Linked DNA regions of Homo sapiens: region 1 is linked to region 2. The links are contacts of gene promoters, found by promoter capture Hi-C in human tissues and cell types (Jung and others, 2019). All regions are on one chromosome and are shown on one strand. Each heading gives the region's core, a stretch centred on a gene start or on the middle of the fragment in contact. The rest is flanking DNA. Distances are from core to core; before and after follow the strand shown.

Region 1 (7,110 bases), core at 333-2,832, 270 kb after region 2:
CCATTTTTGTCTGGTGCTCCCCCTTCCCTCTTTCAGCTGCATCTTTGAGACAAGGTGGTCAGAGCTGGCAGAAGCCAGGTGTCTGGGAATGAGATTTGAATCAGCTTTTTTTCCCCTCTGCATGACTGTGCTAGGTGAAAGTCTCCCTTTTCTCTCAGCAGGAGACTTTCCATGTGGAGGGGGCAAAAGGGAAGTTAGGAGAAGCAGCAAAATGAGAATATTGGCCCAGCTTGTCTTCAGAATCTGTCACCCCATGTTCCGAGCATAGTTCAAATTGCCAGGGTCCATCCGCTGTAGCCCCTCCCTACCTGCCCCATTCCCAGATGTCCTGGGGCTCCTGCAGGAGGAAGGATTAAGCTGGCCTCCCTGGTCTGTGACTCTCTCATGCCACCCAGCACCTACTCCAGTCTGGAATGCTTTGCTCTTCTTTCCAGGTCATTCCTCCTCTCACCTCAATTTCCTCCTCCTGCACATGGGCGCCCCCTCCAGACTCCATGCAGCCCCTACCACCATCTCCAATCCCTCAGATCTCTGCTTGCTGCAGGGTGCCAGGCATTTGCAATGAATCTCACATTGCTTTTTCTTGTTATTGAATATGAGATCGTCTCTCTCAAATCAGAATATAAGAAGCCCCTTGAAGACTACATCAAGTGTTATTCATTCCTAGTACCCTCCCTTCCTTCCGAATGTTGTCCTTCTTTCTCCTACTCCCACCCCACAAAACACAAACACAAACACACACACACACACACACACACACACACACACACTCGTAGACAGGGAGGTATGATGGCATTCTAGATGCTTGGTGGAAAACAATTTGGAGAATGAAAAGACAAGCCACGAACTTGGAGAAAATTTTGCAAAACACATTATCTGATAAAAGACTTCTGTCCAAAAGATACAAAGAACTTTTAAAAGTCAACACCCAATTTTTAGAAATGAACAAAAATACAAAAAATAGCCGGGTGTGGTGGTAGGCACCTGTAATCCCAGCTACTCAGGAGGCCAAGGCAGGAGAATCGCTTGAACCCGGGAGGCAGAGGTTGCAGTGAGCCAAGCTCACACCACTGCACTCCAGCCTGGGTGACAGAGCAAGACTCTGCCTCAAAAAAAAAGTGGGGGGCAAAAGATCTGAGCAGATACCTCACCAAAGATGTACAGATGGCAAACACAGACATGAAAAGATCCTCCACATCATATGTTATTAGAATTGCAAATTAAAACAATAATGAGACACCACTGGGCATCTGTTGGAATGGCTAATTCTAATAGATGGCTAAAATCCAGAACACTGACAACACCAAATGCTGACAAAGATGTAGAGTAACAGCAACTTTCATTCGCTGCTAGTTGGAATGCAAAATGGTACAGGCACTTCTGAAGACAATTTGGCAGTTTCTTTTTTTTCTTCTTCTTTTTTTTTTTTTTTCGAGACGGAGTCTCACTCTGTCGCCCAGGCTGGAGTGTAGTGGCGCAATCTTGGCTCACTGCAAGCTCTGCCTCCCAGGTTCACGCCATTCTCCTGCCTCAGCCTCCTGAGTAGCTGGGACTACAGGCGCCCGCCACCACGCCCGGCTAATTTTTTGTATTTTTAGTAGAGACAGGGTTTCACCATGTTAGCCAGGATGGCCTCGATCTCCTGACCTTGTGATCCGCCTGACTCAGCCTCCCGAAGTGCTGGAATTACAGGCGTGAGCCACCACGCCCGGCCAGTTTGGCAGTTTCTTACAAAACCAGACGTATTTTTACAATAAGATCCAGCAACTGGTGTTTGTACTCCTTGATATTTGCCCACAGGAGTTGAAAGCTTAAGTCCACACAAAAACTTATACATGAATGTTTACAATAGCTTCATTCATAATAGCTCAAACTCAGAAACAACCAAGATGTCTTTTAATAGATGAATGGGTAAATAAACTGTGGTACATCCCAACAGTGGAATATTATTCAGCAATTTGAAAAATGAGCTCTCAGCCGGGCACGGTGGCTTATGCCTGTAATCCGAGGTGAATGGATCATTTGAGGTCAGGAGTTCAAGACCAGTCTGGCCAACATGGTGAAACCCCGTTTCTACTAAAAATACAAAAATTCGCTGGGCATGGTGGTGAGCGCCTGTTATCCCAGCTACTCGGGAGGCTGAGGCAGGAGAATCACTTGAACCCAGGAGGCAGAGGTTGCAGTGAGCCAAGATCGTGCCACTGCTCTTGAGACTCTGTCTAAAAAAAAAAAAAAGAAAGAAAAAAGAAAAGAAAAAGAAAAATGAGCTATCAGGCCATGAGCAGGCGTGGAATCTTAAATGTCTATCGCTAAGTGAGACCGGTTGCAGTGGCTCACGCCTGTAATCGAAGCACTTCAGAAGGCTGAGGTGGGAGCATCACTGGGCAATATAGTGAGACCCTGTCTCTAAACATAAATAAATAATTATGTACATAATTAAGTGAAAGAGACCCCTCTTGGAGAGTCTACATACTGTATGACTCCAACTATGGGACACTCTGGAGTCGGCAAAACTATGGAGACGGTGAAAAGATCCGTGGTTGCCAGGGATTATGGGGAAGGGAGGGGTAAAAAGGTGGAACACAGGGAATTTTTAGGGCAATGAAACCATTCTGCATGATGCTGCAATGATGGATACATTTGTGAAAACCCATTGAATGTACAACACAAAGAATAAGCCCTAATGTAAACTGCGGACTTCAGTTAATAATAATGTGTCCATACTGGCTCATCAATTGTGATAAATGTGCCACCGAAATGCAAGATGAAAATAGTAGAGGAAACTCACTGTGTATGAGGGGCATATGGGAGCTCTCTACATTTTCTGTTTATTTTTTTCTGTAAATCTAAAACTGCTCTTAAAATTTTTAAAGAATCATAACTAGAAAAAAGCTGTCAATTTGAAGCTAACAAGTCACGTCCATGTAAATTAGTTTCAAACTGAGTGGCACTTGCTGTCTGCCAGGCATTGGGCTCTGAGCACTTCACACGCATACATTCATTTCAGCCTTACAAGAATCCTATGAGGTCCCTCCCTATTTTACAGGTGAGAAAACTGAGGCCCAGTGAAGTTAAATAACTTGCTCAGTTATGGTTAGTAAGTGGTGGAGCTGCGATTCAAACCCAGGCAGTGTTGCTCCAGCTACTATACTCTAAACCACATATTACCCCGCATTACTCTTCCCCAAACTTTTCATTTTATTTTATTTCTTTTTTTTTTTTTTTTTTTTTTTGAGACAGAGTCTGGCTCTGTCACCCAGGCTGGAGTGCAGTGACGCGATCTTGGCTCACTGCAAGCTCCGCCTCCCGGGTTCACGCAATTCTCCTGCCTCAGCCTCTGGAGTAGCTGGGTCTACAGGTGCCCGCCAACATGCCTGGCTAATGTTTTGTATTTTTAGTAGAAATGGGGTTTCACCGTGTTAGCCAGGATGGTCTTGATCTCCTGACCTCGTGATCCGCCCATCTCGGCCTCCCAAAGTGCTGGGATTACAGGCGTGAGCCACCGCACCCAGCCTATTTCATTTATTTATTTAGAGATAGGATCTTGCTACGTTGCCCAGGCTGGAGTGCAATGGCATCATCATAGTTCACTGCAGTCTTCACCTCCTGGGATCAAGCTATCCTCCCATCTCAGCCTCCCAAAGTGCTGGGATTACATACAGGCATGAGCCATCAAGCCTGGACCAAACTTTTCATTTTGAAAGAGGATAGAAAAGGGGCACCCAAGGGACTAATTTTTAAAATCAACTTTATTATGGAGTAATTTACCTAAAATAAAGTCACCCATTTTAAGTGTTCAGTTTCATGAGTTTGGGACAAACACATATGCTAATATAAACACCACCACAATCAAGGAATAGGCCATTTCCATCACTACAGAAAGCTTCCTCATGCTCCTTCCCAGGCCACCTCACCCACCTCCAGCCTCAGGCCACCAGTGATCTGCTTTCAGTCCCTGCTGTTTAGTTTAGACTTTTCTAGAGTTTTCTAGAGTTATGACTGGATCATACAGTATGTCTCCTTTTTGTGGCTGGCTTTTTTGTGCATGTCAGAGTTGGGGGCAGGCATCCTGATATGTTTGAGATTCAACCATACTGTTTGCTATGGTTTGAATGTGTCCGCCAGAGTTCATGTGTTGGAAACTTAACCCCCAGTGCATCAGAGCTGGGTGTTGGGGTCTGATAAGAGGTGACTAGGTCATGACAGCTCTGTCCTCATGAATGAATTAATGTTATTTCAAGAGTGGGCTTTTTGTAAAGGGGACTCTGGCCCCCTCTTGCTCTCTTGCTTGCTCTCCCTTCCAAGTGCCATGCCCTTGGACTTCCCAGCCTCCAGAACCATGAGTCAAATATATTTCTGTTCATTTTAAATTACCAAGTCTGTGGTATTCTGTTATAGCAACAGAAAATGGACTAAAACAGTGTTGCATGTATTGGTAGTTCACTCAAAGGAACTAATTTCTAATTGCAAGATTTCAGATATGTTAATCCCCAGGAGAGGAAAGCACACTTTTTTTATTATTATTATGACTAGGACCTTCCCAGGCTGCTTGAGTTGTACTGATCCTGGTCCCACTTCAAAGCAGGGGAGGCACTGAGTGACATCACCCTGAACTGGACCCCAAATGGGCTCCAAGCACAGGAAGTTGTTGGAGGGATTGAGTCACTCCCAACTCAAGCGGGTGATGGAAAGGGCAAGTTAGTCATGTAACCTGGTCTCATGGAATGCTTCTCCCTCCCAGACTGAATTTCCTTCTTTGCTGAATACACAGGACTGCCCTGCATAGCCTTCTTCATTAGAGAAAGCTATGAGAAGCTTTGAGCTCCTCCAAGTAAACTGTTTCATACTCTCAAACAGGCTGTTAATGATGATGATTAATAATAAATTAAGCAAAAGAAGGCCAGGTGCAGTGGCTCATGCTTGTAATCCCAGCACTTTGGGAGGCCGAGGCAGGTCAATCACTTGAGGTCAGGAGTTAGAGACCAGCCTGACCAACATGGTGAAACCCCATGTCTACTAAAAATACACACACACACACACACACACACACACACACACACACACACACACACAAATTAGCTGAGCGTGGTGACGCACGCCTGTAATCCCAGCTACTCAGGAAGCTGAGGCAGGAGAATGGCTTGAAGCCAGGAGGTGGAGGTTTCAGTGAGCCGAGATTGCATCACTGCACTCCAGCCTGGGCAACAAGAGTGAAACTCTGTCTTAAAAAATATATGTAATAACAATAATAATAATAAAGTAAGCAAAAGAAAAGGAAAGGGATGAAGTTAGCACACTGTGGTTGACAGAATAATTTTACATCCTAGAAAATAGATTAAATGAAATTACACTTTTCAATGTAAAAACGTTGTGTTTCCTGGGAAAAAGGCAGATGCGTCCTAACCACTCCTGATTGCATACATATGCAATTTACAATTGTACTTTCTGAGCAGATTTGGAACTCTCCTGGGGCTTAGCTGACTTGGTCTGGGTCTGGTCTCAGCACCCCTGCTAAAGCCTCCTAGGGAAGGTGCTCGGGTTGACAGCTCTCTGGGCCTCTGGTTCCATGTCTGTAAACAAGATGCTTGGAGCACAATTTCTCAAGTTACCTGGCGGCTCTTTAGATCTTAACCCTTTAAATCTCTAGAATTTTAGGGTTTCAACCCCATTGGTATAGCTTGGCCCTGAAGAGAGCAAGCGCACATTGCCGTGTGAGAGACAGACCACTAAGGGGCGCTGCTTCCTCGGAGGAGGCGGGAGTTCTCCTCCTCCTCCGCATTCTCTCCTCTGATGAAACCACACTCATCAAAAGTGGTTGTGACAGAATGCTCAGATTTGGAATGATGAGAAACACGGAAGCCACATCATAGGACCTGATAGATATCTGGCCAACACAGGAACACTGGAATATGTGATCTATGTGACCATCCCCTTCCCAAGGCCAGATCGAACACCCACCCCTTGACATATACCAACGTTAATTGCTTAATGACACGAGGAAATACATTCTGAAAAATTCGTCATTAGGCGATTTTGTCATTGTGCAAACATCACAGAATGTACTTATGCAACCCTAGGTGATATAGCTTACTACACTCCTAGGGTATATGGGATAGACTGTTGCTCCTGCACTACAGATTTGTATAGCATATGACTGTTCTGAATACTGCAGGCATTTGTAACACAGTGGTAAGTATTTGGGTATCTAAACATATCTAAACATAGAAAAGATACAATTTAAAAAAATGATAAGGCCAGGCACGGTGGCTCACGCCTGTAATCCCAGCATTTTGGGAGGCCGAGGTGGGCGGATCACGAAGTCAGGAGATCGAGACCATCCTGGCTAACACGGTGAAACCTCGTCTCTACTAAAAATACTAAAAATTAGCCGGACGTGGTGGCGGGCGCCTGTAGTCCCAGCTACTCCGGAGGCTGAGACAGGAGAATGGGGTGAACCTGGGAGATGGAGCTTGCAGTGAGCGAAGATCGCGTCACTGCAGCCTGGGCAACAGAGCCAGACTCCGTCTCAAAAACAAAAAACAAAGAACAAACAAAAAAGATAGACCGGTTTAGGGAAGGCATTTCCCATGAAGGGAGCTTGCAGGACTGGAAGTTGCTTTGGCTGAGTCAGGGAGTGCGTGGTGAGTGAATGTACACTGTACACTGCTGTGGGCTTTATAAACACTGCACACTTAGGCTACACTCAATTTATACATAATACTTATTTTTTCAATAATAAATTAGCCTGAGCTTACTGTAACTCTTTTACTTTATAAACTTTTTAGTTTTTAAAACATTTTTTGACTCTTGTAATAACACTTAGCTTCAAACACAAACACTTTGTACAGCTGTACCAAATTTTTAAATTTCTTTAGTATTCTGTAAGCTTTTTTTCTATTTTAAAAATTATTTACTTTTGTCTGTGTTGTAAACTTTTTTGTTAAAGACGAAGACACAAACACGCACATTAGCCTAGGCCCGCACAGGGTCAGGATCATCAATGTCAGTCCTCCACCTCCACATCTTGGTCCAGGAAGGTCTTCAGGGGCGTTAACAGACATGGAGCTGTCATCTCCTAGGATAACAATGCCTTCTTCTGGATACTTCCTG
Region 2 (6,807 bases), core at 3,627-6,126:
TAGATAATCCTGAGGTCCCTCCTAGCTCTTAGATGGTTTCTAAAACATGTAATAGAGCAATGTTAAAATGTTTATGTGTAATATGAATTTGGGAGGAAAAAAGGATACAAAATTATATTTATCTTACCATTGAAGATGGCCAAAGACCGGAAGAAAATACAGACACACACACAGACACACACACACACACACACACACACACACACACACACACAAACAGTTTTAATGAAGGGATGGGATCATGGGTCTAAAGAGATATTTATAACTTAAAAGGAAAAAAGGATCCAAAGTTCACATCTGCAGTCAAGTTCAAGCTGGTAGGGCCTCCTTCATCACTGCTGCTCTTTTACTAGTGCCCCTATATTAGTTTCTTAGTGCTGCTGTGGCAAATTACCATAAAGTTAGTGGCTTAAAACAATGCACATTTATTATGCTATGGTTCTGGAGATCAGAAGCCCACACTGGCTTATTGGGCTAATATCAAGGTGTCATCAGGGTTGTGTTCCTTCTGGTGGCTCTAGGAGAGAATCCACTTCTTTTCTTTCCCTGCTGCCTGCATCAGTTGGCTCCTGGCCTCCTTGCACCCTCAAAGCCAGCAAGGGCCAGTTGAGTCTTTCCCACAGTTGACTCTTTCTAGCCTTGCTTCAGTTGTCATATCTTGTCTGACTCTGATTCTCTGGCCTCATACTTGTACTGATAAAGACCCCTGTGACACAACAGGCCCATTTGGATAATCCAGAATAACCTTCCCATCTCAGGATCAGCGGACCAGCAAACCTAATTCCATCTGCAGCATTAACTTTCGCTGTCTATTTACATAGCATATTCACAGAATCTGGGGACTAGGGGTTGGTCATCGCTGGAAGGGGGCATTGTTCTGGGCTGCAGCCCCTGAGTGTCTCCAGATTGCCTTGCACATTTTCACCCGGTTTAAACTGCATAAACACAGCAAGGGGAGGAGGACGAGCCTTCCACTGTGATTTGCCTGGGGGTCCTTTGGCCCCTTATGGATAATTCCGCTAGCCAGTGAGATGTGTCATAACAACTGGAGCTGGACATTGAGCCAGCAAGCACTTATGGAGCGCCTTCTGTATGCCGAGAACTAAGCCAGACTTTAGAGATGGTACAAATATGAGGAGGATACAGTCCCTTCTCAGGGAGCTCATAGTCTCATAAAGAAGATGAGCCATCCACACCCCCAAATACAAAGCACAAGGGGAGAAAAGATGCAGTGAGGTGAGGCCGAGGACCACGAGCTGTGGCCCCACTCACAGGCCTGAGGAGGACGCGGTGGAGGAGGGCAGTCCAGGCTCAGCTCCAACTTGATATTTTTCATTTTTTAAAATTATCAATGAGTACAAGGAAATACACCCTGTTCCACTATCCTCCTGTCCCTCTCCCAACCTACTGTCTCCATCTCACTGAGCAGAGGTAACTACTCTATGGAAAAAAAGAATACATATGTATAAATCTTGTTCCTGATATATTCTGTATGTTAAAGTGTTCAAATGAAAAACATTATATAGGTAACTTATAGTGCTGTTTTATACAATGGGTTTCATCTATAACATGCTTTGCAGCTTGAACCAGTCTCTGACCAAATTGAAGATATGTTCCCAAGTCAATACATTGTGTATTTGTGCACTTCTAGGGCACATTGCCAAACACAGAATAGCTGTGTCAAAGGATATGCTCAGTTTTAATTTTGACAAATATTCCCAAGTTGTCATCCAAAAACAGTCATGCATCCTTAGGGACAAGAATATGTTCTGAGAGATGCAATGTTAGGCAATTTCATTGCTGTGCAAACATCATAGAGCTACTTACACAAACTTAGATGGATGTAGTCTACTACACACCTAGGCTACATGGTATGCCCTATTGCTCCTAGGCTACAGACATGTACAGCATGTTACTGTACTGAATACTGTAAGCAAAGGTAATACAATGGTAAGAATTTGTGCATGTAAACATATCTAAACATAAAAAGGTACAGTAAAAATACAGTATCATAACCTTATGGAACCACCGTCATATATGCTGTCTGTCACTGATCAAACGTCACGATGCAGTGCATGGCTGTATGAGAGCAGCTGTTCCTCCACACTCTCACTTACACTGGACATTATCCATTTTTTTTAACCTTTGTCAATCTGAAAGGTGGAAAAGGCTCGTCTCAATGTGATTTTGATTTGCATTCCTTCACTGATGAAGTGTAGTTAAAATATTTTTTTCACGTGCTCGTTTGTGTTTTACATCTTTGAGCTGTCTGGAATTTATTTTGTCATAAGAATAGGACTTTATCTTTTCCAAATGGCAGCACTTGTTATTAAATAATTCATACCCAACTCTCAATTTTAGAAATAAAAGGAGGCCATCTCAATCTAAACCTCACACTATATACAAAAATTAATTCTGAAGGAATCATGGATTGAAGAGTAAAGCATAAAACTTTTAGAAGATAACATAGGAGCAAATCTTCAGTATTAGGACTAAACAAAGAGTTCTTAGGCAGGACATCAAAATCACATTCTGTAAAATTCAAAAATTCATAAATTGATCTTCAATGAAATTAAAATCTTTTGTTCTGTTGAAGATCCTGTTAGAGGGATGGAAACACAAGCTACAGACTGGGAGATAATATTTGCAAATAACCTACCAAACAAAGACTTACAAACAGCAATATATAAAGAACTATCATAACTCAATGGTTAAAAAATAAAAGAAAGAAAAATTCAATTATAATATGAGCAAAAGGCTTGAACAGATATTTCACCAAAGAGGAAATATGGATGGCAAACAAGCACATGACAAGGTATTCAACATCTCTAGGCATTTGTGAAATGCAAATTAAAAATTTAAACCACAATAAGGCCCAGCACAGTGGCTCACACCTGTAGTCTCAGCACTTTGGGTGGTGGAGGCGGAAGGATTGTTTGAGCCCAGGGCTTTGAGACCAGCCTGGGCAACAGGGTGAAACCTTATCTTTACAAAAACTACAAAAATTAACTGGGCAGGGTGGCACACACCTGTAGTCCCAGCTATTCAGGAGGCTGAGGTGGGAGAATCTCCTGAGCCCAGGAGGTTGAAGTTGCAGTGAGCCATGATCTCTCCACTGCACTCCAGCCTGGGCAACAGAGCAAGACCCTATCTCTAAATAAATAAATAAATGACGTCTGTAGTCTAGTTAACTGTAATGTCCCAACGTAAATTTCCTGTTTTCTACATTGTCCTACAGTTGTATAGATGTCTTTGGAGGACACTGGAGGTATTATTTTTGCAACTTCCTGTGAATCTACAATGATTCAAAAGAAAACATTAAAGAATGTTCTAATATAAAGAGACTTTGAAAAGATGAGAGAAGAAAACCAGCTTTGCCAAAGTCTTTCCCGTTGCACAGGTAGTTTTCTTTGGCGGTCGCTTTATCAGCAATAACCTATTAACTTTCCTTCCTCCAGAGACACATGACATACCATCCTTTTGAAAAGTTGCCAGTTGAATAGAAGCCGTCTTAGACCAGGACAGACAAAAAAGTTGCATTAAAAAAATGGTTCTAAAAAACATCAGCCTACCCTTTTTCCAGATTACCAACTGTTACCATTTAACCCATCGGCTTTATGGCGTGGGATCTATCAATCTGCATCCTTGTTTCAGAACCATTTGATGTAAGTTTCATAAATCTTGTGCCTTTGCTCCTACTTACTTCAGTGTTTATTTCCTAAAAATATTCTCTTGTACACTGACAGTACAATGTGCAATTTCAGTAAATTTAACATTAATTCAATACTTCCATCATCGACCTGACACTGAGACTCATGCCTGTAGTCCTGGCACTTTGAGAGGCCAAGGCAGGAGGATCACTTGAATCCAGGAAATCGAGGCTGCAGTGAGTTATGATGGCATCACTGCACTCCAGCCTGGGCGGCAGAGGGAGACCCTGTCCGTAAAAAAAAGAAGAGAAAAGACAAGGAAAGAAAATACTTCCATCATCTCTGTTCCACTTTCGTCTGTTGTCACGGTACCGTCCAGTCCAGTCACAGTACCGGTTGGACCAATCTGGCTAACCCATTGTTTAGCCAATGGGTTACATGTTAACAGTTGGTAATCTGCAAAAAGAGTATGCTGATGTTCTTTTGAACTACTTTTTTAAATGCAGTTTTTGCATTTGTCCTGGCCTAAAACGCCTTCCATCCGTCTGGAAACTTTTCAAAAGGATGGTATGTCATGTGTCTGGGGAGGAAGGAAAGTTAACAGGTTATTGCGGATAAAGGAACCACCAAAGAAAACCACTTCTGCAACGGGAAAAGGCTTTGGCAAAGGTGTTTTCCTTCTTTCAGCCTGGGGTCTGGCTGCACCTACTTGTCATGCCTCTTTGAGGTCGTAGATATTGCAGATCTGAGTTTGCACCATCTCTCCCAGAGAGAGAGAGCACCCAGAACTCTCACGGTACCGCGCGGCTGCAGTGACTGCGTGCTCATCCCCTGTAATTGGCTCTGACGGTCCTGAAGAGCTAACTGGACTGTTTGTCTTGATCGTCCCATCCCCAGGAGCTTCTCTCTGTTGCGGGTGGGTTGGGGCAGAGGAGCCCCGCTTTGGGGTGCGCTCCTGGCCTGGGAAAACGGCTCAGGGCGGAGGGAGGAGAGCTGGAGAAGGAGAGGAAATTGGGGAAGGAGAGGGAATTGGGGAAGGAGAGGGAACTGGGGAAGGAATCCCCTAGGGAGGAGCGGAGCGGGGCAGTGCTCAGGGCTCGCAGATCGGCGGGGTCACCTGGGGCTCAGGGCGGCCAATCCGCGGCGCGGCCCGTCCCGCGGCCAATGGGAGGGCGGCGCGGCCCGCTCCCCTGGGCTATAAGCGAGCCGGGAGGCGGAAAGTGAAAGCGGTGCGGGCCGGGCGGGTGCATTCAGGCCAAGGCGGGGCCGCCGGGATGCTCAGGGTTCCGGAGCCGCGGCCCGGGGAGGCGAAAGCGGAGGGGGCCGCGCCGCCGACCCCGTCCAAGCCGCTCACGTCCTTCCTCATCCAGGACATCCTGCGGGACGGCGCGCAGCGGCAAGGCGGCCGCACGAGCAGCCAGAGACAGCGCGACCCGGAGCCGGAGCCAGAGCCAGAGCCAGAGGGAGGACGCAGCCGCGCCGGGGCGCAGAACGACCAGCTGAGCACCGGGCCCCGCGCCGCGCCGGAGGAGGCCGAGACGCTGGCAGAGACCGAGCCAGGTAAGCGGCGAGGCCGGGGAAGGGGGGCAGCCCAAGGCGGACCCCCAGAGCTCGGGGTGCAGGGACGCGGGGCTCCGCGGCGACAGGCAGAGGGACCTTCCCGCCTCCGCAGCCACGCGCGCGCCCCCGGAATGAACCCTGAGCCCCAGCGTCAGGGCGGCGCAGGATTCTGACACCGCAGGACTCGCCCGGCTCCGTGCCCTCCGCTCCCTGGGGCTCAGAAGCCGGCGCGACTGCAGCGCCACCGCCCTCCACCGTCCCAGGAGCGGATCCCGCCCCGCGCCACCCGCGATCGGCGCCAGCCCCCCGGTAGTTATGAGAACTAATAATAACTTATTAACAGTGACAAAGCAGGGGTTGACCAGCAAAGCCTCCGTGTGCTTCCCAATCCCGTGGGCAGTAAAGCGGTATATTCGGGGTTCCCTCCGGTGTCCAGGAGAGAGAGTCCACTTATTTTCTTTCCTGTCACTTCTGATGAGGCGACCGAACGCCTCGTTTAGCGAAGAGGGAATTAAAGCCCAGAATGAGCCTGCCTCTGCGTCTCCAGTGGCACAAGCCCTCTCTTGCCCACCTGGATCCTAACACCGGATGTCTTTTGGTCTGGCCTTCCCGGGTATCTTGTTCCACGGCATTTTCCCTGCCTCCCTCTCCCGCCTCTCCTCAGCACACAGATCCAGAATCCCCATATAATTCTACTAGACAGTAGGGAGAAAGTTCAACCACGAAACGTCTCTAACTTTGGGTTCTTGATGATTCTTAGCAAATGAATGCGTAATAAACATATTTACTCACTCTTCACTCCGGAGAGCTCCTTAGTCATGTGAAAAAAGTGAAATGTATCCACGATGACAGTGGGCTGTTTGTTCACTCACTAAAGAGATAAGGGTGGATTGAATTCTGTTCTCTTCCCTGCTAACATGTAACTTTTGTCTTCCCATCCCTCCTTCCCCACTCTCCTTTCCAGAAAGGCACTTGGGGTCTTATCTGTTGGACTCTGAAAACACTTCAGGCGCCCTTCCAAGGCTTCCCCAAACCCCTAAGCAGCCGCAGAAGCGCTCCCGAGCTGCCTTCTCCCACACTCAGGTGATCGAGTTGGAGAGGAAGTTCAGCCATCAGAAGTACCTGTCGGCCCCTGAACGGGCCCACCTGGCCAAGAACCTCAAGCTCACGGAGACCCAAGTGAAGATATGGTTCCAGAACAGACGCTATAAGACTAAGCGAAAGCAGCTCTCCTCGGAGCTGGGAGACTTGGAGAAGCACTCCTCTTTGCCGGCCCTGAAAGAGGAGGCCTTCTCCCGGGCCTCCCTGGTCTCCGTGTATAACAGCTATCCTTACTACCCATACCTGTACTGCGTGGGCAGCTGGAGCCCAGCTTTTTGGTAATGCCAGCTCAGGTGACAACCATTATGATCAAAAACTGCCTTCCCCAGGGTGTCTCTATGAAAAGCACAAGGGGCCAAGGTCAGGGAGCAAGAGGTGTGCACACCAAAGCTATTGGAGATTTGCGTGGAAATCTCAGATTCTTCACTGGTGAGACAATGAAACAACAGAGACAGTGAAAGTTTTAATACCTAAGTCATTCCTCCAGTGCATACTG

What was found. The method cuts DNA at HindIII sites, captures the fragments that hold promoters and counts their contacts. A contact is called where the count stands out against the background at its distance.
Region 1: a fragment that was not itself captured here is called in contact with the fragment with the promoter of NKX3-1 in region 2 in 2 of the 25 tissues and cell types used here (mesendoderm cells and thymus).

What each region holds. Positions count from the first base shown.
Region 1 is chr8:23,409,165-23,416,274 of GRCh38, reverse strand. No RefSeq gene overlaps it. Among named protein-coding and RNA genes, the nearest start is that of LOXL2, 8.6 kb to the right of the region's middle. RefSeq lists enhancers at 1-406, 5,660-5,779 and a silencer at 5,645-5,939. The HindIII fragment of the contact is 5,535 bases long and covers 1-4,349 here.
Region 2 is chr8:23,681,007-23,687,813 of GRCh38, reverse strand. It overlaps NKX3-1 (NK3 homeobox 1), which reads left to right and starts at 4,876. Exons shown (of 2, transcript NM_006167.4): 1 at 4,876-5,210; 2 at 6,175-6,807. The coding sequence starts at 4,925. The coding sequence ends at 6,593. All of the region lies in intron 3 of LOC107986930 (a long non-coding RNA gene), which reads right to left. RefSeq lists silencers at 4,695-5,204, 5,245-5,294. The HindIII fragment of the contact is 20,085 bases long and covers 1-6,807 here.